Regions from separate parts of the Homo sapiens genome. Here all the other regions are linked to region 6. Evidence: promoter capture Hi-C in 16 types of primary human blood cells and fetal thymus (Javierre and others, 2016). All regions are on one chromosome and are shown on one strand. Each heading gives the region's core, a stretch centred on a gene start or on the middle of the fragment in contact. The rest is flanking DNA. Distances are from core to core; before and after follow the strand shown.

Evidence for each region. Contacts are between HindIII fragments. The CHiCAGO score rates a contact against its expected background, and 5 or more counts as called.
Region 1: a contact is called between a fragment that was not itself captured here and the fragment with the promoter of AVEN in region 6, in 1 of 17 cell types (activated CD4 T cells). The highest score is 5.8, in activated CD4 T cells.
Region 2: a fragment that was not itself captured here is called in contact with the fragment with the promoter of AVEN in region 6 in 1 of 17 cell types (activated CD4 T cells); the score reaches 5.5 in activated CD4 T cells.
Region 3: a fragment that was not itself captured here is called in contact with the fragment with the promoter of AVEN in region 6 in 4 of 17 cell types (total CD8 T cells, activated CD4 T cells, total CD4 T cells and 1 more); the score reaches 7.8 in total CD8 T cells.
Region 4: a fragment that was not itself captured here is called in contact with the fragment with the promoter of AVEN in region 6 in 1 of 17 cell types (total CD4 T cells); the score reaches 5.7 in total CD4 T cells.
Region 5: a contact is called between a fragment that was not itself captured here and the fragment with the promoter of AVEN in region 6, in 1 of 17 cell types (total CD8 T cells). The highest score is 5.0, in total CD8 T cells.
Region 7: a fragment that was not itself captured here is called in contact with the fragment with the promoter of AVEN in region 6 in 5 of 17 cell types (activated CD4 T cells, naive CD4 T cells, total CD4 T cells and 2 more); the score reaches 6.6 in activated CD4 T cells.

Annotation. Positions count from the first base shown.
Region 1 is chr15:34,890,209-34,893,311 of GRCh38, reverse strand. AQR (aquarius intron-binding spliceosomal factor) reads left to right here. Exons shown (of 35, transcript NM_014691.3): 24 at 2,988-3,097. Among named protein-coding and RNA genes, the nearest start is that of AQR, 78 kb to the left of the region's middle. The HindIII fragment of the contact is 3,676 bases long and covers 1-3,103 here.
Region 2 is chr15:34,856,854-34,859,936 of GRCh38, reverse strand. AQR (aquarius intron-binding spliceosomal factor) reads left to right here. Exons shown (of 35, transcript NM_014691.3): 35 at 2,831-3,083. Among named protein-coding and RNA genes, the nearest start is that of ACTC1, 63 kb to the right of the region's middle. The HindIII fragment of the contact is 7,297 bases long and covers 1-3,083 here.
Region 3 is chr15:34,908,005-34,911,298 of GRCh38, reverse strand. AQR (aquarius intron-binding spliceosomal factor) reads left to right here. Exons shown (of 35, transcript NM_014691.3): 17 at 986-1,164. Among named protein-coding and RNA genes, the nearest start is that of AQR, 60 kb to the left of the region's middle. The HindIII fragment of the contact is 730 bases long and covers 1,673-2,402 here.
Region 4 is chr15:34,924,908-34,928,063 of GRCh38, reverse strand. AQR (aquarius intron-binding spliceosomal factor) reads left to right here. Exons shown (of 35, transcript NM_014691.3): 13 at 926-1,029. Among named protein-coding and RNA genes, the nearest start is that of AQR, 43 kb to the left of the region's middle. RefSeq lists a silencer at 1-256. The HindIII fragment of the contact is 5,060 bases long and covers 1-3,156 here.
Region 5 is chr15:34,998,182-35,001,425 of GRCh38, reverse strand. The region is part of intron 2 of LOC105370764 (a long non-coding RNA gene); the gene reads right to left. Among named protein-coding and RNA genes, the nearest start is that of ZNF770, 12 kb to the right of the region's middle. The HindIII fragment of the contact is 2,416 bases long and covers 617-3,032 here.
Region 6 is chr15:34,037,390-34,040,472 of GRCh38, reverse strand. AVEN (apoptosis and caspase activation inhibitor) reads left to right here and starts at 1,269. Exons shown (of 6, transcript NM_020371.3): 1 at 1,269-1,693. The coding sequence starts at 1,427. All of the region lies in intron 1 of CHRM5 (cholinergic receptor muscarinic 5), which reads right to left. RefSeq lists silencers at 1,177-1,346, 1,527-1,736, 1,827-1,886, 2,237-2,296. The HindIII fragment of the contact is 8,272 bases long and covers 1-3,053 here.
Region 7 is chr15:34,941,969-34,945,333 of GRCh38, reverse strand. It overlaps AQR (aquarius intron-binding spliceosomal factor), which reads left to right. Exons shown (of 35, transcript NM_014691.3): 6 at 906-1,046; 7 at 3,254-3,322. It also overlaps the pseudogene RPL36AP8. Among named protein-coding and RNA genes, the nearest start is that of AQR, 26 kb to the left of the region's middle. The HindIII fragment of the contact is 1,540 bases long and covers 1,178-2,717 here.

The sequences.
Region 1 (3,103 bases), core at 579-3,078, 850 kb before region 6:
CCAATCGGGGTAGTTTATATTGTGCGGTCTTACTCCAGCCAATGGGGAAAGGACACAGATACAGGGGCTGCATTAGGGATAGAAACCCTTCTCTCCTTTGTTCGGTGTGCTCTTGGCAAACGTGACTGACGCAGGTAGCACCCACCTGCAGAAGTAAATTGCCTTGCTGAGAAAACTTTTTGTCTGAGTGCTGGTTCTTCCTTGCAGCATTGAGCACTTGTTCCTAACATAAGGAAGGAGCAGAGGATTCATGAAATGAATGTATTAATAGATGATTTATCCTTGTATGAAAATCTGATCATAGGTACCACAAAATACCAGGAAAGGCTAATTAGTATAGATGGTCCCTGACTTTTGGTTTGACTTTTATTCTGACCTGTAATATTTTGACTTTATGATGGTGTGAAAGCAATATGAATTCAGCAGAAATTGTACTTCAAGTACCCATACAACCATTCTGTTTATCACTCTTATTTCGCTATTCAATAAATTATATGAGATAGTCAACATTTCAGTATAAAATAGGCACATTGTGTTAGATGATTTTTCCCAGGTATAAGCTAATATATGTGTTCTGAGCATGTTTTACATAGGCTAGGCTAAGCTATGGTGTTCAGTAGGTTAGGTGTGTTAAATGTGTTTTCAACTTAGGATATTTTCAACTTATGATAGATTTATTGGAATGTAACCCCATTGTAAGTTGAGGAGTATCTGCTATTGAGCTACTCTTGGATTATCACTGCTTATAATGAGATGACATTGAGAGATATATAAAAGCAATCTTTTATTTCTACTGGAGAGGGTCAATGTGAAAAAGCTAAGACTATTTGGATATATGGTTAGATATTTGGATTAAATTAAATTGCTATTTTTTCCTTCTACACTAAACTAGAACTTTTACTTGGAGATTATAAGCATTAACCCTTACTGGGAGCATTTTTCTTCATTTAGTAGAATGAATATTCCTGAAAGACTAAGGTCTAAAGTGCATTGATACTGGATTAAATTTCAAATCCATGTGAAATGTACACCTGTATTACATGAAGGGACTGTATTCTACTTTAGTCATTCTGAAGCTGTCAGAAATGAGGGAAGAACAAGTAACATTTATTAGATCTGGTATAAAATGAGACAGGCAACTCTGAGAACATCCTGAAGCATATTATGAAATTTGCATGGTAGTCAAAACCTCTGAAAGTTTTTTCTCGGAGTTTATGTTAACAGTGGTGACTTCAGTTGACCAGTCTTTGAGTTGGTATATACAGAAGCACTGTGTTTTTGGAATGCCAAATATCAGTTACTCTGGTGATCATTAACTTTTAATTTGTAAAGTTTTAAAAATAATACTCTTCAGTTCATTTGCCTGACATATTTTTATATATTTTGAAGTTTATAAATAGTAAACTTATCCAATATACTGAATATATGTTATACATAATTATATAATAACATATTACATAACATATTGGACATAATGCATCTAATATACTGAATTTGTGGGAGTTGAAGGGGGATCAATTTGGACTTTGTCTTGATAAAAGAAACAAATTATGAAAAGAAGTTTTTTTCTTCTGTTTATAAAATTTGTTCTGTAAAAACCTATTGTAAATTCTTAAAATGAACAGAATAATTCATGTGTTGTTTTAACATATTTTTTACTGTTTTGTCATACCTTGATATGGCTTTCTACAGTTATCCTCTACTTTATGATTGATTTGTATAGCACAATCATTGAAAAGATTAATTTGCAAAAATAGACACATAATTCACTGCTTGCTAAACACCTGCCTTGGTTTTTTGAAATTCAAATCATTTCCCTTGATGCCCATCGAATTGATTGTTTTCCTTCAGTTAACTGTTTTGTTTGCCAGATCTTCATTTGCATGTATAATTCAAGTAGTTCTTCAAAATCACTGTAATTCACAATGAAATCATGTAGTTTTTTCTGGGATTATAGTGTGCAAGTTTGTGGGGGTTTTGTTTTTTGTTTTTACTTTTATTCAATCTATGTGGTTCTTGAGTTTGAATAGTGAAGGTTTGGATAGTGAGTAACACCATGTAATCTGCTCTGTTGGGTACTGAGTTTTGGATGATGAGTATCAAGAGTTTGGATAGTGGGGGATTTTTCTGAAAATTTATGTTAAATCTCTTCAGTTTCAGAGCTCAGATTGCTAGAATTTTGATGGTAAAGGATATCTGTATCTACATTATATAACCTAGGTGTTTATAAGACTGGATGCTGACTTCACAGGCAGGGTTGGACTAGTGAAAGTGAGATGTTTGAATGGCGGCTTATTTTTAAATAGTACCTTAATTAGTGAGTCTTTCCATACTATGAAACTTTTGCCTTTCTGTAAAACCTTGTAACTGCGGAAGTTCAGATAATGAATACTAGGATTCGAGGGAACCCTAATTATGAACATTTCACAGATAGAAAGTAGTGACTTTTAAATGACTTTCATCAGAATAGTTTGCAATAAATGAGTGCTCTGCTCTTTATTATATTGAGAACATTAGACTTTCAGACTAAGATTTGAAAGATGCAATTTATGTTTCCACCTTCTGGTCCTCTTAATGTATTCTACCAACACACTCACTGCCTTCTTATTGTCTTTCTCCAACTGCAAAAACTTTTTCAGTTCTCTGTAACCCAAGGAAATGCTGTTGAATGAAATGAAACTCAGTGTGGTTGTTTATTTTAGGAGTTGTTACAACTCGGAAGAAATAGCATCTGAGCCAATGCCTTTCTCGTTTCATAAATTAAAAGCAGATGTTTAATAGGTGGGTGGTTTTATGGTTTCTAGTTATCCATACAGCCAAATAGACATAGATGGCAATATCAGAAATCAATATAAATACTATTTGATTAAATTATAAATGGCCTAATATAAGGCTGATTTCCTTCTGTGTTTCAACTTTGATTCTTTCTAAATGTTAGTTTTTGCTACGTTTAAAGGTGCCGTCACCCTTCTTGCTTTATTGTCTAGGCCCTAAACCAGTTGTTTGAGAAAATCATGGCATTAGACATTGATGAGCGCCACCTACTGCGTCTTGGTCATGGAGAAGAAGAGCTGGAGACAGAGAAAGATTTCAGCAGGTGAGC
Region 2 (3,083 bases), core at 132-2,631, 820 kb before region 6:
ACTAAAGCAGGCTATTATTATTTATGTAACATTCGTATTTTTAAAACTTCTTTATATAGTTAGAATTCCACATACAATAAAGTCCACAAACTTAAAGTGTAAAATTTTATATGTTCTGGCATAGGTATTTACCTGTGAAGCCATCAGCACAGTCAAGATAAAGAGCATATCCATTATCCCAAGAGTTTTCCCTTGTGCCCATTTGTAATCCCTCCTTGCCCTTCACCAGTCCCCTTTTTACCTTCCCAGGCAGCCAAGGATCTGCTTTCTGTCATGATAGGTTTGCTTCTATTTTCTAGATTTTTATATAAATGGAAGCATACAGTATGTATTCTTATTTTTTCTGGCTACTATTGCTTATACAAGTCTTTGTACTTTATCTTGGGTAGATACCTAAGAGTGGAATGGCTGAATTTATGTTAAGGATGTGTTTAACTTTTTAAGAAGCTACCAACCTGTTTTTCAAAGTGGTTGAACCACTTTACACTCTCAGCAGCAGTGTGAGAGTTCTAGTTGCTACACATCCTCACCCTCACTTGATATGGTACGTCTTTTTAAAATTTTGGCAGTTCTAATAGATATACAGTGGTCTCAGTATGGTTTTGGTTTTCATTTCCCTAAGGACTGATGATGAGCATCTTTTCATGTGGTCATTTGCCATCTGTATATCTTTGGGGATGTGTCTGCTCAGGTTTCCTGCTCATTTTTTTATTAGGCTGTATATTTTATTAAGTTTTGAGAGGTTTTTATTTATTCTGGCTACAAGTCCTTTATCTGATATGTATTTTACAAATATTTTCTCCCATTCTGGCTTGTTTATTTATTTTGTAAGTGTCTTTCAAAGAGCAAAAGTTTTAAATTTTGATGAAGTTCAATGTATCAAAGTGTTCTTTTATGATTCATGCTTTTTATGTCCTAAAAATACATAGCCTAACTCAGAGGTATAAAGGTTTTTTCTAGAAGTTGCAGAGTTTTAGGTTGGATACTTAGGTATGATGCATTTTGAGTTAATTTTTATATGATACAGGTAGGACTGAGTTTTATTCATTTGTCTGTGGATATGCAGTTGTTTGAGCACCACTTCCCTAATAGGCGATTTTTTTCTTTGTTGACTTGCTTGTCATCTTAGTCAAAATATCAATTGACTATATATGTGAGAGTCTGGGCTTTCTATTCTGTTCCATTATTCTGTATATCCGTCCCTTTGCCATGACTGTACTACCTTGATTATAGTAGCTTTACAGTCAGTCTGGAAATTAGATAACATAAGTCCTTTAGCTTTGTTCTTCATTTTAGAAATTGTCTTAGCTATCCCAGTTCCTTTGCTTTTCTGTATACATTTTACAATCAGCAGGTCAGTTTCTACCCCCAAAAGCATGCTGCAGTTTTTAAAAGGATATTTTGAAGAGGAGGATTGTTTAGGATCTATTTGGGGAGATTAACATCTTCACATATTAAGTCTTCCTATCCATGAATAAGATCTCTCGTTTATTTAGATCTTCTTTAAATTCTCATCAGGATTTTGTAGTTTTCAACATACAAACCTTACACATATTTTGTTAACATTTTGCTAAGTATTTTTCTTTTTCGTTTTCTTTTTTTTTTTTTTTTTTTTTGCTGCTGTCGTGCACGGTACTTTTTAAAAATCTTAAAGGCCAGGCGCGGTGGCTTATGCCTGTAATCCTAGCACTTTGGGAGGCTGAGGTAGGTGGATCACCTGCGGTCAGGAGTTCGAGACCAGCCTGGCCAACATGGTGAAACCCCGTCTCTACTAAAAATACAAAAATTAGCCAGGCATGGTGGTACATGTCTGTAATCCCAGCTACTTGGGAGGCTGAGGCAGGAGAATCGCTTGAACCTGGGAGACGGAGGTTGCAGTGAGCCAAGATGGCACCACTGCACTCCAGCTTGGGCGACAGAGTGGGACTCTGTCTCAGTCAATCAATCAATCGATCAATCAATTCATTCATTCAATTTCCAGCATTGTAAGCAGAGTCCCTGATGAGAAAGTCACTAGACTGCCATGGGGCAAAGGGCAAGCTAAGCATATAGAGTTGCTCCAGTTTTCTGGTTGAACGGAACAGAAACCTTGTTCCTTGCTGCTCCCTTCTCCCATGGCTTTGCCTTAAGGCCAGGCTCCTCTCTGCCTCTCACAGGGCTCTTTTTCTTTTCTTTTTCTTTTTCTTGAGACAGAATCTCTCTCTGTCACCCAGGCTGGAGTGCAGTGACACAATCTCAACTCACTGCAACCTCCAACTCACAGGGTCAAGTGATTCTCCTGCCTCAGCATCCTGAGTAGATGGGATTACAGGCTCCTGCCACCACGCTCAGCTAATTTTTGTGTTTTTTAGTAGAGATGGGGTTTCACCATGTTGGCCAGGCTAGTCTCGAACTCCTGGCCTCAAGTGATCCGCCTGCCTTGGCCTCCCAAAGTGCCGGGAATGCCACCATGAGCCACCGCACCCAGCTCACAGGGCTCTTTGATTAAAGTTGACCCTTTCTTGAGTTAGTTTTATAATCAGTCCTGATCAGTCACTGTTTTTTGCAGAAATGTTGACAGCAAAGTATGTTGCTTAAAAATCTAATAGCTTTTCATGGTTGTTTTCCTCTCTGAAGATTTTATATGTATTTTGATTATCAGTATATGACATCTGTGTAGGCATATTCCTTGGTGTTAGCAGAACCTAGACCATTGTCATCAGAGGTGTTACATCTGGAGTATAAAATGGTCAGCACTGTTTTGGAGAACTCTAGAATGGTAATGTGAGAGCTTAGCTTTATAAGCTGTTTTTCATATTGGTATTGTCTTTGTTTTTTTTTTTTTAATTAGACTTTATTACAACTACCACCTGCTATGGTAGAAGAGGGTGAGGAAGTTCAAAATCAAGAAACAGAATTGGAAACAGAAGAAGAGGCCATGACTGTTCAAGCTGACATCATACCCAGTCCAACAGACACCAGCTGCCGTCAAGAAACTCCAGCCTTTCAAACTGACACCACCCCCAGTGAGACAGGAGCCACTTCCACTCCAGAAGCCATCCCTGCTTTATCTGAGACCACCCCTACTGTGGTAGGAGCTGTAT
Region 3 (3,294 bases), core at 788-3,287, 870 kb before region 6:
ATCCAAAGGAAATAAAATCACTGTCCCAAAGAGATGTCTGCACTCTTGTGTTCATTGCAGCATTATTCACAATAACCAAGATGTGGAAACAACTTAAGGGCTGAATGGATAAAGAAAATGTGAAAATGTGGTGTGTGTGTACATATATAAAAACACACAATGGGATATGATTCACCTTTTAAAAAGAAGGAAATCCTTTTTTTGACAACATGGATAAACCAGGAGTACATTATGCTAAATGTATTAAGCCAGATACAGATAGACAAAAACTGATTATCTCACTTTACATATGGAATCTAAAAAAGGCAAATTCATAGAAGCAGTAGAAGGGCAGTTATCAGGTTGTAGGTGGGGAAAATGGGGTCATGTTGGTCAAAGGGTCTAAACTTTCAGTTACAAGATACATAAGTTTGGAGATCTAATGTAAAGTATAGTGACTATAATTAATGTTTTATGTACTTGAAACTTGACAGGATAGATCTTAAGTATTCTTACCACACACACAAAAAATGCTAACTGTGTTGGTAATGATATCACAGTGTATACATAGTTTAAAACATCACATTGTATTCCTTAACTATATACAATTTTTATTTGTCAAGTATACGTCAATAAAGCTGAAATAAAACTAAGTGTGCTGGATTATTTATTTCTTTGATAAAATGGCTCAGCCCCAGAATGCTCTTATGTACATAGGGTTAGCTTTTTTCTTAGGTTGGAGAGGAGATATTCCTCTACTTCTCTTTCTTTTCTGGACCATGTTTGCCTGTTTCATGCTATCATATCCCTGTTTCATGCTATCTTATATACTTTGCATACTTTGAGAGTTAAAGGTTTTCTTTTTTTTAAGTTAAGAAATAAGAGTTACTAATATTAGGACTTAAATACTAGCTGAACAGTATTCCTACTTACTAGTTTTAACTTGTCTAAAAGTTGGGGATAAATTATTTTTTGTTTGAGTAATCATCCATTTCTTTGGTTTCAGGCAATCTGAATATGGCGGTGTAGTGTTTGGTGGTTGGGCGCGAATGGCCCAGCCCATTGTGGCTTTCACTGTCGTTGAAGTGGCCAAACCCAACATAGGTGAAAACTGGCCAACCCGAGTTCGTGCAGATGTTACCATAAATCTCAATGTCAGAGATCACATCAAAGATGAATGGGAAGGTAAGTTTGTATTTCAAAAAGTGACATTACCTTTTGCCTTGTTATGAACTTTCACTTAGAGCATTAACAAAGTACTTTTACTAAATGTTATCCTTTAAAGCTTTTATTAAGCGTTATCCTTGAAATTTGATTTAAAGAATAGCAACTTTTTTTCTAATTATTAGTTTTAAAAATACCAGGGATCATACAAGAATATTTAGGTATCTTAATACTTTAATAAAAAGTATAAAATTGCATACATATCAACGTTTTGAAAACTGAAGTTTGCAAAGCCTAGAGGAGAGCATTTTAAGTCTTAAATTTAGCAAAATAATATTTATGGATTTCTGGCATCAATATAAAAGAATAAAAATATTAGTGTTCACCAAAGAGCAGGGAGAAAGCCCACATATAACATACAAACATGCAGAGCAGTAAGGAAAATTGGTATTTTTCAAAAGATAAAAGTAGCCAAGGTGAAAAAAATAGAAATACATACACTTTGTGGAAAATAAAAATTAGGCAAGCTTAAAAAGAATATGTGGGGGTGGGCAGGGCTATAGTGAAACAATTCAGAAATAAATAATAGTTTATTTGCGCCTAAGGCAGAAAGGATAAAGAGTCAGTGAAGTCAAATGTAGTCAAGGATATATAATAATTGCAAAGAAATTAAAGGAGTTATTCCTCCTATTTTTGCTAGGCAAGATTTTAAGGATTAGAGTTCCATGTCAAAATTAATTTGTTTTGGAGGCAGATATGTTCAAAATTACTAAGTCCAATAGAGTTAAAACATCAATAAGACCTCTGCCAGAAGTGACATATGAACTGATTTCTAATAGGCAGTTTTATATTTTTCTCCCAGCTGTCCTGTGAGAGGTCTTACTTAAAGCCCTGTTTTGAGAAACAGTAGTCAGTAGGTTTTACCTCCTTTTACCTTCTTGGCATGCCAGAAGGAAAGGATGTCCCTTAATGGATCTGTTTTCAGAAATTATTACTACCAGTGTAGCTGTTTATAATCATGGGAACTATATCAAAGAATTCTGAAGGAATCCAGCAACAAAGCTAGCCAAATGTTTAACAAATGCCTACTGTAGCGGGTATAGTTTATGACAGATTGTTTTATAACCCTTGTATCCTTCAAAAGAGTTCCATCCTGGTATATTACTCATCTAGACTAATGTGCACCTTTATTATTGCTGAGCCTCGAGAAAGCCATTAAGTTGCTGGAGAAGGTCTCATATTTATTATTCCTTGAAGCTTAAGGAGATATTAAACACTGTGGGTAATAAACTGAGATAACTTACTGGGTACCCCCAGAAGTAGTAGATAGTTGGAATTTTGTTTATTTTAAAGGACTCTATAGGAATTTATAGATGAGAGGTCTGCATTTTGGTGTTAAGGAAAACAAAAGGATGTTTAAAAACAGGCCACTTCCCCCATTACTGACTGCTTTCAGAAGGACATGAGACAGTCTTTTTTTCTTTTAAACATCAGCCTCTGGTAGAATGAGAACTGGACAGGGTACATTTTGATGGGCAAGATAGGGCACAATAGGGTATTGTGGGATGAGTGATAATCTGGGGTATGATGGAGAGAAAAGTGTTTTATGGGAGGCCTGGGCCAAAAACCAGCCCCTATATTGATCACAGATAGGGTAGCCAAATAGAAAATGGAGTAAAAAGGAGAGATTCTGTAAACAATAATACATTTTTTTTTTTTTTAGACGGAGTCTCACTCTGTCGCCCAGTCTGGAGGGCAGTGGCACAATCTCGGCTCACTGCAACCTCCACCTCCTGGGTTCAAACAATTCTCTGCCTCAGCCTCCCGAGTAGCTGGGATTACAGGCACCCGCCACCACGCCCAGCTAATTTTTTGTATTTTTAGTAGAGACGGGGTTTCACCATCTTGGCCAGGCTGGTCTTGTGATCCACCTGCCTCAGCTTCCTAAAGTGCTGGGATTACAGGCGTGAGCCACCGTGCCCAGCTGAATATTGTTTTATAAAAGTAAATTTTAAAGATTATTAAACTAAATACCATAAAACATTCCTTTTGTCCCTTTGAAAAGGTGTGAACCTCAAGCCCTTATCTTCTTCAATATTCTCATTTAAAGTTAAGGAAACAGAATTCATGAAATGGAAATGCCAGATTTGC
Region 4 (3,156 bases), core at 90-2,589, 890 kb before region 6:
CCTTGAAATAACCACAGCTGGTGTGGCATGTGGTCTATTGTATTGACACAGGCAAGGCATCATTATTGCTTCCAAGGAACTTGGCTATTTGCCCTGTTGAGGAGGCCCTAACTTTGCTTGATGCTGCTAGCATTCTCCTGAGGACTGACTTGTTTATTTCCTTGTTTACACAGTTCATTCTCATGCTTGGGTTGCAGAGTCATTTTGCCATTGTGTGTAGTAATCTCATAATCCCATGGCAAGCTCACTCATGGCAACCTTGGCAACCTTCTGTGTCATCCACCATGGAACACATGAAAACTTCCGGATCTTTTCTGTGCCATGTGGGCATCAAGGAAGACAGGGATATTATTTCAATCACTCTGTTGTTAAATCCCAAGGAAGACTAGGGATATTATCTCAGTCACTCTGTGCAATACTACTATTTCTGTTTTCTTACAGCTTACCCTATGTTGGTTGAGAGTGCTACCCTGTGAGGTCTTTTCCCAGAGTTCCAAACAAAAGCAAGGCACAAGCATAAGTTTTTTGGTCTCTCCTTCCAAGTTCTCTGCAGCCAGAGTTTCCCTTGGGACTTTCTTTTAGTCTTGTTCGACCAGTTCTTGATAATCAAGTGTGTATTTGTTTTTTGCTCCTCTTCTGTCAATAAAGCTAGCCTTTGTGGCTATTTTGTATATATTGAAAATCCTTTTAGATGTCAAAAGCTGAACGCCAACTTTATGTTTTTTACATTTCTGTTATGACAGTTGTAGTTTTTTCTCTTTTTATTATATGCTTCTGTCTGATTAAGGTAGAGGTCACATAAAAGAAGCATATAAGAGACAGAAATGCGTTAATATTTTTATAAAATATTTTCATTCTTAAATAGTAGATGTTTATATTAATATGTAGACATTAATTATTAATATTTTTTGCCATTATTTTCTAGAGAGCTGCTTTTGCACATTTTCCTGAACTCTATGATTTTGCCCTCTCAAATGTGGCAGAAGTAGATACTCGGGAGTCCTTGGTCAAGTTTTTTGGACCTCTTAGGTAAGACAACATGAAAAACTATATATTCTTTTTTTGTATCATGCTCCCTCAATTTTACTTTTCTTTATTGCTTTTAATCATTTTGCAGTACTTTAGATAATATTACTTGTTATTTCACTCTTCGTTGACGTCTACAACTAGTGCTTCTCTCCAGCAGTTTGGTGTCTTTGTCACTTACCCACGTTTGGTAAAGTTTCTGTTTTTTATGACGTATACAATTTTCTTCGATCTGAAATTTTTCTCAGAGTAGAATATAAAGCTGGTCAATCTCATCAGTCATAAACGACATATGACAAAAACCAATAAAGATTCATTATGTGTGATATTAGAGGTGTGACTTAGGGAAATTTTTGCATGTTTAAAATTTATAAAATTAGTAATATCCTCTGGCAGTTAGCTATCTGCTAATATATCCTTTTGAAAATAGTAATAATAATGGCATACATTTATTTACTATGTGATAGACGTTCTGTTAAGTGTGTAAACAACTCTGAAAACATTCATGCTAGAAGTAGGTACCATTTTACGTATAAGGTATCTGGGGCATAGAATAGTTAAGTAATTTGCCTAGGTTACACAGCAAGTAAGTGGCAGAGATACAATTTAAACCCGGATAGTGTGATTTCCAAGCCCTAACTTTTAACTACTATACTGTATCATCTCCCAGCTCTTGGGATAAATTATGTTTAGTTCCTTGACTATTTAAAATGTAATAAACTGAGGTTGGTTTGGTTGTTCATTCTCATATGAGGATTTAATATAATTAATAACACATAGATTCATTTCATTATTTTAAATAACTACATAGAGTTCCATTAAACAGGACCAGCATACTATTTTTTTATTTTTTTATTTATTTTTATTTTATTTTATTTTTTTGAGACGGAGTCTCGCTCTTTCGCCCAGGCCAGACTGCAGTGGCTCACTGCAAGTTCCGCCTCCCGGGTTCACGCCATTCTCCTGCCTCAGCCTCCTGAGTAGCTGGGACTACAGGCGCCCGCCACCACGCCCGTCTAATTTTTTGTATTTTTAGTAGAGACGGGGTTTCACCGTGTTAGCCAAGATGGTCTCGATCTCTGACCTCGTGATCTGCCCGCCTCAGCCTCTCAAAGTGCCGGGATTACAGGCATGAGCCACCGCGCCCGGCCTTATTTTTTTAAAAGTTAATCTCCTATTGGTGAGTCTTTTTTTTTGTTTTTTTTGAGACGGAGTCTTGCTCTATTGCCCAGGCTGGAGTGCAGTGGTGCGATCTCGGCTCACTGCAACCTCTGCCTCCTGGGTTCAAGTGATTCTCCTGCGTCAGCCTCCCGAATAGCTGGGACTACAGGCACACGCCACCATGCCCAGCTAATTTTTAGTAGCAAAGATGGGGTTTCACCATGTTGGCCAGGCTGGTCTCAAACTCCTGACCTCAGGTGATCCTGCCTCGGCCTCCCAAAGAGCTGGGATTAGAGGCATGAGCCACCGCTCCTGGCCTCCTTTTGGTGAATCTTTAATTTTTAAGTTTTGGCTTTTACAAACAGTTCTGCAATGAGCATCCTTTTCGTACTGATTCCTAGAAGCAGAATGGCTGATTCAAACGGGGCATGCGTTTAAAACTTGTTACATATTGCTAAATTTCCTTCAGAAAAGACTATCAATTTACACTTAAACTAACAGCGTATGAGGATTTATTTTTCTCCCTACTAATGCTGGGTAAATTGGATTTTAATTTTTTCTATTTTTATCTCATTTTACTTTGCATTTCCCTGATCTTATTTGGGAAATTAAGCATTTTTCTGTTTTTTTCTTGGCCATTTACATTTCTTCTGTAACCTTCTTATTTTCCTTTGCTATTTTGCATTTCATTGCTTGTCATCTTACTGATTTTAAAGAACTTTTAATATTTTTGGTCCTAATCCCTTTGTCTAGTTTGTGTTGCATTTATTTTCTTTCAGTTTAACTTTGTTTGTAACATCTTTTGTCATTACAGATATTTTAAATTTTTTAATGACAACTGTCATTCTTTTTAATAACTATATTAGATGCTTTATGTAGAAGTCCTTCTCACCCTAAGGTTATAAAATGTTTTCCTATATTTTAAAAATACTTTTATTGCCTTTTTTTTTTTTTTTTACATTTAGCTTA
Region 5 (3,244 bases), core at 575-3,074, 960 kb before region 6:
GAGAAGAAAACCACAGGGATAAGCCAGGCGCAGTGGCTCACACCTGTAATCCCAGCACTTTGGGAGGCCGAGGCGGGTGGATTACCTGAGGTCAGGAGTTCGAGATCAGCCTGGGCAACACAGTGAAACCCCGACTCTACTAAAAATACAAAATTAGCCGGGCATGGTGACACGTGTCTGTAATCCCAGCTACTCTGGAGGCTGAAGCAGGAGAAACATATACATACATATGTAACAAAACAAATATATAAAAATCACATGTTTTATGCATAAAAATGTAAATATATAATATATAACATTTTATAGAAAATCTACGTATATAAATATATTTAAAATATAAATATTGATAAAAATTTTAACTGTAAATTATATATAAATACACTTATATAAAATATAAATAAATTGATATATATATATATATATATATACACTTATTGTAGGACTTTCACCTTAGAAAACTGTGGGAGCTGATTAAACACTATATGTGCCTGGTGCCAGAGGTTGGGGCTGGTACTTAGAAGGGAGGATGAATGCAAACTGAAGACATAAGGATCAACTAGCATCTGGAAAGAGAAACATGAACCTACAAGGACAGACCTCTCAGTAACTCCAAGCTTCCACAGATAGTCTAATGTTCTGCCCTTAGTCATGGAGCTAAACATGTTTCTGGCCCGGGACTTGGAGAAGCTAAAGGAGAACATCTGGCAGGAGTTGAAGGAACTGTGGGCTGGATGTTGCCCAAGGCCAGCAAGGTGAGTCAGCAGATTACAAAAACATGGGTGAGCTGGGATGGGTGCCTGTGCCCTGCACAGACCTTCCAAGTGTAAAAACAAGCTACTGCTTCCTTCTCACCTTTCAAATACCATGCAAAATGCCTCCCATGAGGCTTGCTAATCCTGAGTCAGGTAGCAAAGGAAATTCTTGAAAAAAAATAAAAGGCCGGGCGCCGTGGCTCATGCCTGCAATTCCAGCACTTTGGGAGGCCGAGGCGGGTGGATCGCGAGGTCAAGAGATCGAGACCATCCTGGCCAACATGGTGAAACCCCGTCTCTACTAAAAATACAAAAATTAGCTGGGCATGGTGGTGGGCGCCTGTAGTCCCAGCTACTCAGGAGGCTGAGGCAGGAGAATCGCTTGAACCAGGGAGGCGGAGGTTGCAGTGAGCCGAGATCACACCACTGCATTCCAGCCTGGTGACAGAGCAAGACTCCATCTCAAAAAAAAAAAACACAAAACAAAACAAAACAAAACAAAAAATTTCGGTTTAGCCAAGCTGATACAATACAACCCCACACTCCTTCAACTAACTCCAACATGGCAGCAGTAGGGTTCATTTAAAAATACGAATCAGGCTGGGCACGATGACTCAAGCCTGTAATCCCACAGCTCTGGGAGGCCAAGGAGGCAGGATCACTTGAGGCCAGGAGTTCAAGACCAGCCTGTGCCACATAGCGAAACCCCATCTCTACAAAAAAATTTAAAAACTGGCCATGTGTGGTGGGTGACATGTGCCTATAGTCTTAGAAACTCGGAGGCTGAGGCAGGAGGATCACTCGAGCTCAGAAGTTGGAGGCTGCAGTGAGCTATAATCACACCACTGTACTCCACCCTGAACAACATAGCAAGATCTTGTTTCTAGAAAAAAATATATATATAATATATATAATATATATATTATATTATATATACCCACACACATAAATCAGACCACTTTTCTTTCCTAAAGTCTTCCAAATGTTTCCCATTGCATTTAGAATAAAATCTAAACTCTTTACTGTAGTTTACAACACTGCATAGGATCTGACCCCTACCACTTCTCAGAGCTCCTTGCATTTTGTACCACTTTCTCCTTGCTCACCATTGCTGAGCCACTGGCCTTCTTTTTTTTTTTTTTTTTTTTTTTTTTTTTGGAGACGGAGTCTTACTCTGTTGCTCAGGCTGGAGTGCAATAGCACGATCTTGGCTCACTGCAACCTCTGCCTCCCGGGTTCAAGTGATTCTACTGCCTCAGCCTCCCAAGTAACTGGGATTACAGGCACCTGCCATCATGCCCAGCTAATTTTTTTTTGTTTTGTATTTTTGTAGAGACCAAGCTGGTCTTGAACTCCTGACCTCAGGTGATTGCACGCCTTGGCCTCCCAAAGTGCTGGGATTACAGGCTTGAGCCACCACGCCTGGCCACCATTGGCCTTCTACCTATTCTTCAGTCACTGAGGTGATTCCTGCCTAAGAGCCTTTGCACCAGCTGTAACATCTGCCTGCAACATTCTTCCCATTGATTGATCTTCCGGTCACCAGCTCTTTCTTTTTATTCAGATTTCAGCTTAAACATCATCTCCTCAGAGACCTTCCTCCCTGACCACTTAATCTAAAGAAGCCCACCATACCTCAATATTCTCTGTCACATCACTCTGTCTTAATAGTCGTTTTCACCATTAGAAATTATCTTATTTATTGTTTGCTTGTTTATTTTCTCTTTCCCACCACCATCACTATCAGAATATAGGCTCTGTAAGAACAAGGATTTTCTTGTTTCTCTGCTTGGCACATGATAGTGCTCAATAAATGTTTGTGGAGGCAACTGTAAACCAAAAACAAAATTCTAAGCCCCCCAACCGACTGGATCCTTCATCTTAGCCAAGGGCGTTCCAAAGTTAACCTCCAAACTAGTTAAGGCCACGATAGGAAGGGGGAGTTGGACGTGCCTCATCATACTCTTCTCCCGCTGGAATTCAGGCACAGCTGACCAGCATTGACATTAAAACAGAGACTTTAAGACTGACAAAACAGACTGTAGCAATAAGATACCAACATGACAGATGGTAGGCCCTGAAAAAAATAGAAGTATTTTACCCCCAAATATATTTCTTTGATGTATTTTGAAATGGCCCTACAAAGTTGTCTCTTGTGGGGGAAATCTACATTCTGTAGAGAATCTACTTCCTTTTCTAGGTCTTTTCCCTGATCCAGGAGACAATTAACTAAGAGCGTGACAGCTTTCTAAGTCTGATAAGGAACATCTACAACAAGCTTGTTCAATCCACGCACCAAAACAGCTATGAATGTGGTCCAACACAAATTTGTAAACTTTCTTAAAACATTATGAGATTTCTTTGCAATTTTTATTTTTTTTAGGAAGGAGTCTGGCTCTGTTGCCTAGGCTAGGGTGCAGTGGTGCGATCTCGGCTCACTGCAACCTCCGCCTCCCTGGTTCAAGTGATTCTTCTGCCTCAGCCTCCTGAGT
Region 6 (3,083 bases), core at 20-2,519:
TAAGACTGTTTCTCTGGAGTTGACAATCCTTCAATAGTTCCCCCTGTCTGGAAGGCGCCCCTACTCCCATTTACCAACCAGGCAAACTCCTACTCAACCATTAGGCTTTAGCTCAGGGGTCTATTTCTCATGAAGCCTTGGGTAACCCGTTTAAATATAATTTAACTTTTCTTCTTTGGACCTTGATCTTGAATCTCTCACTGCACTCAGCAACACGGTACTGTAATCATCTATTCACACGACTAGATTATCTTCCTTGTGGGCAGTGAGCTACTTGAGGGCAGGGGCAAGGTTTTTTTTTTGTTTTTGTTTTTAATTTCAGGACATAGCACTGTGCCTGATGCAGAGTAGGCAATTAGAAGCAATGAAAAGTATTAACTATGTATGGATATAGGAAAGAACCAGAAAGTACTGAGGGGGAAGAAAACACTTATTCTGCTAGGCTGACATTTTAGCCCTTGCTTTCATTATTTTCAGGTGGTTTCAGTCCCAAGTTAAAAACTGCTTTCATGCATCTGTGTAACCAACTGTTCCCCTTCCTGTTTTCTCCTTGGTTGAAAGAAGGGACTGGAGTGAGACCGCCTTAGAATGCCAGTTCCACCACTACCTAGTTATTCACTTTAGTCAAGTTTTTTTTAACCTTTCCAAGGCTGTTACCTCACTGCAGAATAAGGATGACAGTCATCCCTACCTCATAGAGCTGTTATGAGAATGAAATACTCATGTGCTCAATAAATGTCAGCTGTAGTAGTCATTTCTACAGAAATTCTGCTGAGGACTTTGACGCCCTTTCTAGCCATCTCCCAGTTTCGCACTGTTCTCTCTCCCACGTGCTGCAGTCCACCTCTCACCAGACACAAACTCTTGTCTTTACATCCACACCTCCTGAACCCTGACTTCGGTATAGTTTTAAAATGATACACATTCGTTGCTGAAAATTAGATTAAACGGAGGAAAAAAAATTAACTCACTTCAAATCTCAGCAGTTAACCACTAACATTTTAGTATGTATTTGTTTAGACCTTTTCTTATGCAAATACATACGTTTAAACTTTTTTTTTCCGAGAGTTCACATCATACAAATTTTATTTTATGACTCGTCCTTGCACTTAGCACGGTCTCTCCCCCAACCTATCTCTGATGCCTTGAGAATCCCCCCGCCCCGCTGCAGACCCCCACCACTTCCAGCTCCCAGCGGTCCGGCCTTCCCGCGGTCCCGGTTCCGGCCCCACCTGCGGGACGCCGGCCGCCCCGCCCCGCCCCGCTCCGCTGCGGCCGGCCTCGATCCCTAGCCCCGCACCCCGCGCCTCGCTGCTACCGGGCGCCTTTCGCTCGCGGCTCCTCCGTGCGGCCCGCTTCCGGTGGGGCCAGGGCGTCTCCGCCGCAGCTCGGCTCCCGCGCGCTCAGCACCGCCAGCGGCGGCCAGATGCAGGCGGAGCGAGGAGCTCGGGGAGGCCGTGGGCGGCGGCCAGGCCGCGGCCGGCCTGGCGGAGATCGCCACAGCGAGCGGCCCGGAGCCGCAGCGGCGGTAGCCAGAGGCGGCGGCGGAGGCGGCGGCGGGGACGGAGGCGGACGCCGGGGCCGTGGCCGTGGCCGGGGCTTCCGCGGCGCTCGCGGAGGCCGAGGAGGAGGAGGCGCCCCGCGAGGCAGCCGCCGGGAGCCGGGAGGCTGGGGCGCAGGGGCCAGCGCGCCGGTAAGAGGCGACGGCTGGTGGGGCTGGGACCGCGTGTAACTGGGGCAAGTGGGGCCGAGGCCGCCAGTCAAGAGCCGCAAGAGAGCGTGCCAGGCGCGCGCCAGACGGGCGGCGGCGCCGGCGCCTGCGCGGGACGGGCGGATGGTGGCGCGGGGGCGCGCCTGGTGGCGGGGGCGCGCCTGGGTATGCGCTTGGCCCTCGTGGCCTCCTGGCCGGGCTGGCGCGAGACAGTGGGGGTAGGAGGGCTTCCCAGCCTGCCCCAGGGTCCGGGTTAGGAACCCAGAGGCCAAGGCCGTGTGTCAGGGCTGCAAGTCTCGGCGGCCCGTGGGCCGGCTGGGCTGTCTGTACGAGTACCACTATGGGACGGAGGCGCGGCCACGACGTGGTCCCTCGGCAGCCTTTACGGGCACGCTCCTGTTATTAGGAGGGAAAGGATTTTTTGGTCTGTTTTGTTAACTGTCTGTGCAATGCCTAGTACACAGTAGGCGCATAATAAAAAGTTTGTTGAGTGAAAGAATGACCCCTACGACTGGACTCTAGTATTTGGGGGCGGGACCAGATGCATAGTTCTTTGTAATAGCGTAGTTCTCTTTTATTATGCCTGTATGTGTAGAAATCAGCGAGCACTGGGCTTTGTCGTTTTGAATTTTCAATTTATAAATGAGCAGTCAAGTTCTGAGTTTTAATAGCAATATCATCAGTCTTATTGACACATTCATAGAAGGAAGTTTTTGGAGATTGGAGCAGGGGATGATATATATGGGGGCAAAGCTAACCATATCTCAGCTAAAGGAGTTAGAGGACTGTCTTTTTATGAGTTGTTCTGTTACCTTAACATCTGTAGGACAAGACCATCTTTATATTCTGCATTCTTATGCACACTGATTTAAAAAATTCTTTTTTGCATGAGGCAAAATTTGCTCTTACTGAAGTATTTACAATATCTTGAGGGCATAGCAGATAAGATATCCCTAAAGAGAGTAGTTGTATACAGCAATACAGAGCTGGAAAAAAAAGTATAAAACTTAAATTTAAATGTAACAAACTTAAATCTTGTTAGGATTAAGATAGGTAATAGGCAAAACTTGAATGAGATATAAAAACATTTTTAGGGTCAGTTTACCTCGTGTAAACTGACAGAAACTAAGGTAAATGACAGAAACTAAGACCAACCTAGTGCCCACTATATATCACATTTTGTTCTTATAACTCTATTATATATATATAATATATATGTAATGTAGAATTATGTAATATAATAGTATGTAATTATATATTAACTACAATGTTATATATTATTTATATATCCATATATAGAGAGTAATCTTTATTTTTACAGGTTAACTGACTTGCCTAAGCTTTCACAGCTAGTGGCAGAGCTGGGATTTAT
Region 7 (3,365 bases), core at 698-3,197, 900 kb before region 6:
TTACCAAGATAGGTAATAGAGAGTGAGGAATAATTTGGAGGATACAAAACTGTTGAATTGAATTTGGACATATTCAGTTTAAATTGCCTTTGGAATATCTAGATTAAGTCATCTAGTAGAGGAATCTAAGGTTTGAGAGCTCAGAAGAGAAATCTGGACTGCAGATGTATATTTGGAATCATTGGTATTTAGTGGTTGAAGTAATAGAGGGAGAAGAATGAGGCTAGAACCCTACGAATATTGCGGTTTAGATAACAGGCAAAAGAAGAAGAGCCTTCAATATGGTGAAAAGGAGTTGAGAGTTAATAAGGGTCCATAGGACTTGACAGCCATACAGCTTCAGGAGAGCTTGTCTTAGAGAAGTGAATGAAAACAACTAGTATAGACCACACGCTTGGAGCATTTGTCTGTGGCAGTAACTAGAAACAGAGGTAGGTCAAAGAGGCTTGAATATATTTACATTATTTACAAGTTAAGAGTAAAGAGCTAATATAAAGCAGGAGGGGCTGTTCTTGAGATTAATTACAGTGTGAAAACTACAATTTTTGCTAAAGATGTAGTTTCTTTTGTTTAAATCAGAGAAATTAAAACACTTCAGATCCTTAATAAGAAAACAAAGCCTAAGCTAAATACAGGCATAATCCACAGAGGAAAAACTAAAGAAATGAAAGCCATTATTTTATTAGCTAAAGGGTTCTGCAGCTCTCTCATAGTCCTGTCAGAAACCTGTATTTGACTTGCCATTAATTATAAGTAAGCACGTGATGCTTCTTTTATACATATACAAATAACCCTTTTGTAATTATTTGGTTTTTTTAATAGACTGCTAAAAAGCCTACTAGGGCTTCTTTAAAGCTTAAGTGAGCAAGCCAATACAAAATGAATTTTATTCTGTTTCTTTTCAGATTTTTAAGAAGAAGCCAGACCACTTCCCATTCTTTTTTAAACACATCTTGAAGGCGGCATTAGCTGAAACTGATGGTGAATTTTCACTTCATGAACAGACAGTCTTACTACTTTTTCTTGATCATTGCTTCAATAGTTTGGTACTTTTACTTTATATTTTGGGGTAATTTTCAAGTTTTCTTGTTCTTTTAGGTTGAGTTTAGATGAAATTACCTCTGTAGCCAACTCCATTCATCCATAATAGCAGGCAATAAGGATAATGCTAAAAGCTTGATTTCAGCCACTTATCAGTAAAACCATTTTATAAGTCTTTAAGATATGTTTTTATAAGATATGTTCACTTTTTAATAGATTTGAAATTGATACTTAATTTTTTCTATCTAGACTCTTAAGAAAAATGATTATAAGAACTGAAACTCTAAAGGGAGAGCACAAAAATGAGAAGCAGCAAGGAGACTGGTTATATGGAATTGGAGTAATGAGATCTGTGCCACAAACTGCATATACATACAGGAATGTAGTTTCATTGCTTTTCATCATGCCTTATGCATAGGCTGGTTAGTCAACAGGAGAGTTGTATTTTGAGTTGACTGATAAAGGCCAAGTGTAAATGATCTTTGAAAATGTCTTGTGTGTGATACATTTTCATCCTTCATAAGATTATCTTCTAAAAAATTAAATATTTTCAGTAATATTTTATTTGAGCTTTCCTGTGTGGTTAGCTGATAAATACACATATTTATTTAGTGCCTCTGAATTGATAATTCACTTACACCCATGCAGGAGGAATGCATGGAGTTCTTTCTTATTCTGAAGACTGAGTGTTAATAGATGGATGATTATTACCTGTTTCCATGTACTATCTCACATGGATCTTTTAAAGGCATAAAAAAAGATTTATGATGCCTGCACTGGATACCACTGTTATCTCTTTAACATTTATTTTTATTTATTTATTTATTTATTTATTTATTTATTTATTTTGAACATAAACTCAAGATTTTATTGTCTTCATAATAAAAGATGACACTTAGAACTGAATCACTTGGCCCTTTCTCTTCTTATCTCCTCCCAGTTCAAAATGCTTGCATCTTTTAATAGCCAGCATTCTCTTAGATCTGCAGTTGGGCTCAATGCACTCAAGCCTTAGCACAATCTTTGTAGTTTTAGCCTTTTTCCAGAAAATTGGCTTAGTTTGCCCACCATAGCCACTCTGCTTCCTGTCATAACGCCGCTTTCCCTGGGCATACAGAGAATCCTTGCCCTTCTTGTACTGTGTCACTTTATGGGGTTGGTGCTTGCCACACTTCTTACAGAAAGTCCGGCGGGTTTTAGGGACGTTAACCATGCTTGCGTGAGCGTTATCGGCACAGAAAGCCTCTTTAACATTTATTAAACTAAACAGAACAAATAGAAATATAAATAGATGTGATTTTTTTATCAGAAACTAAACAGAAACAAGATTTTATTAGTATTAGTAATTTGGTGATAGTTTTAGCCAACTTACCAAACTAGTTTATTATTGAAATGCTTTATCTTTTAAAATATGCAGTCAGTTCTTATTTGAGGTAGTTATGTTCATTTTATAAAGTAGCTATGAACATTGAATGAGCTAATGCTGAACCATTACTCCTTGGGGAAATACAGGGTTAGGTTCCTGCAAGCCTTGGTCATGACATTTTACAAACTATCAATACATAGCCTTATTTTATGTGTGTTTCTATTTAAAGACAGCTTATTTATTGTATATTATTGATTCATTAACCATGAACTCACTGCCAACAGCACTGTAATTATGCCTGAACGAAGCTTATCTAACATACGTATTTACTCTGTAAGACATATCACAGCCTTCTTGCACCCATGAACATCAGACAGCACTTCAGCCTTGGGCTTGTTGCCATTTTAAACAGCGAAATCATCAAAAAGCACAAGCGTGCCAAAAAAAATAGTACTCAATAGACCACAAAAAGGATACTTGTTTCTTACAGTATGAGAGCTGAGAATGAAGCAGAGCATCAGCTCAGTCTCACCTGAGAATGTGCACGTCGGACAACTCAGATTTTTGTTTGGGCCATCTGGATGACTGTGAAAGCACATGGAGTGTTGATTTTGGGGTTACAAATACATTTTTATTAGTATATGAATTTGCAAGTACAAAATCTGTAGATAATAAGGATGGAGTCTTTTTTAAAGCATTGAACTTCTTAATATCAAAATATTAACTTGAAAATATTTGTGGCATGTTTTCCCTCCAGGACTTAAAAAGGCAGTATACTTCTTATGTAAAGACTTAGGTAGAAATGCTGGTATGTTTATAAACTTATTTTCTTCATGCCCTAAACAGGAAGTAGACTTGATACGAAGTCAAGTACAGCAGCTTATCTCCCTCCCAATGTGGATGGGCTTACAGCTGGTAAGTCTCTAATTTCAGAGTCTTATGAATGTATGTGTTATAA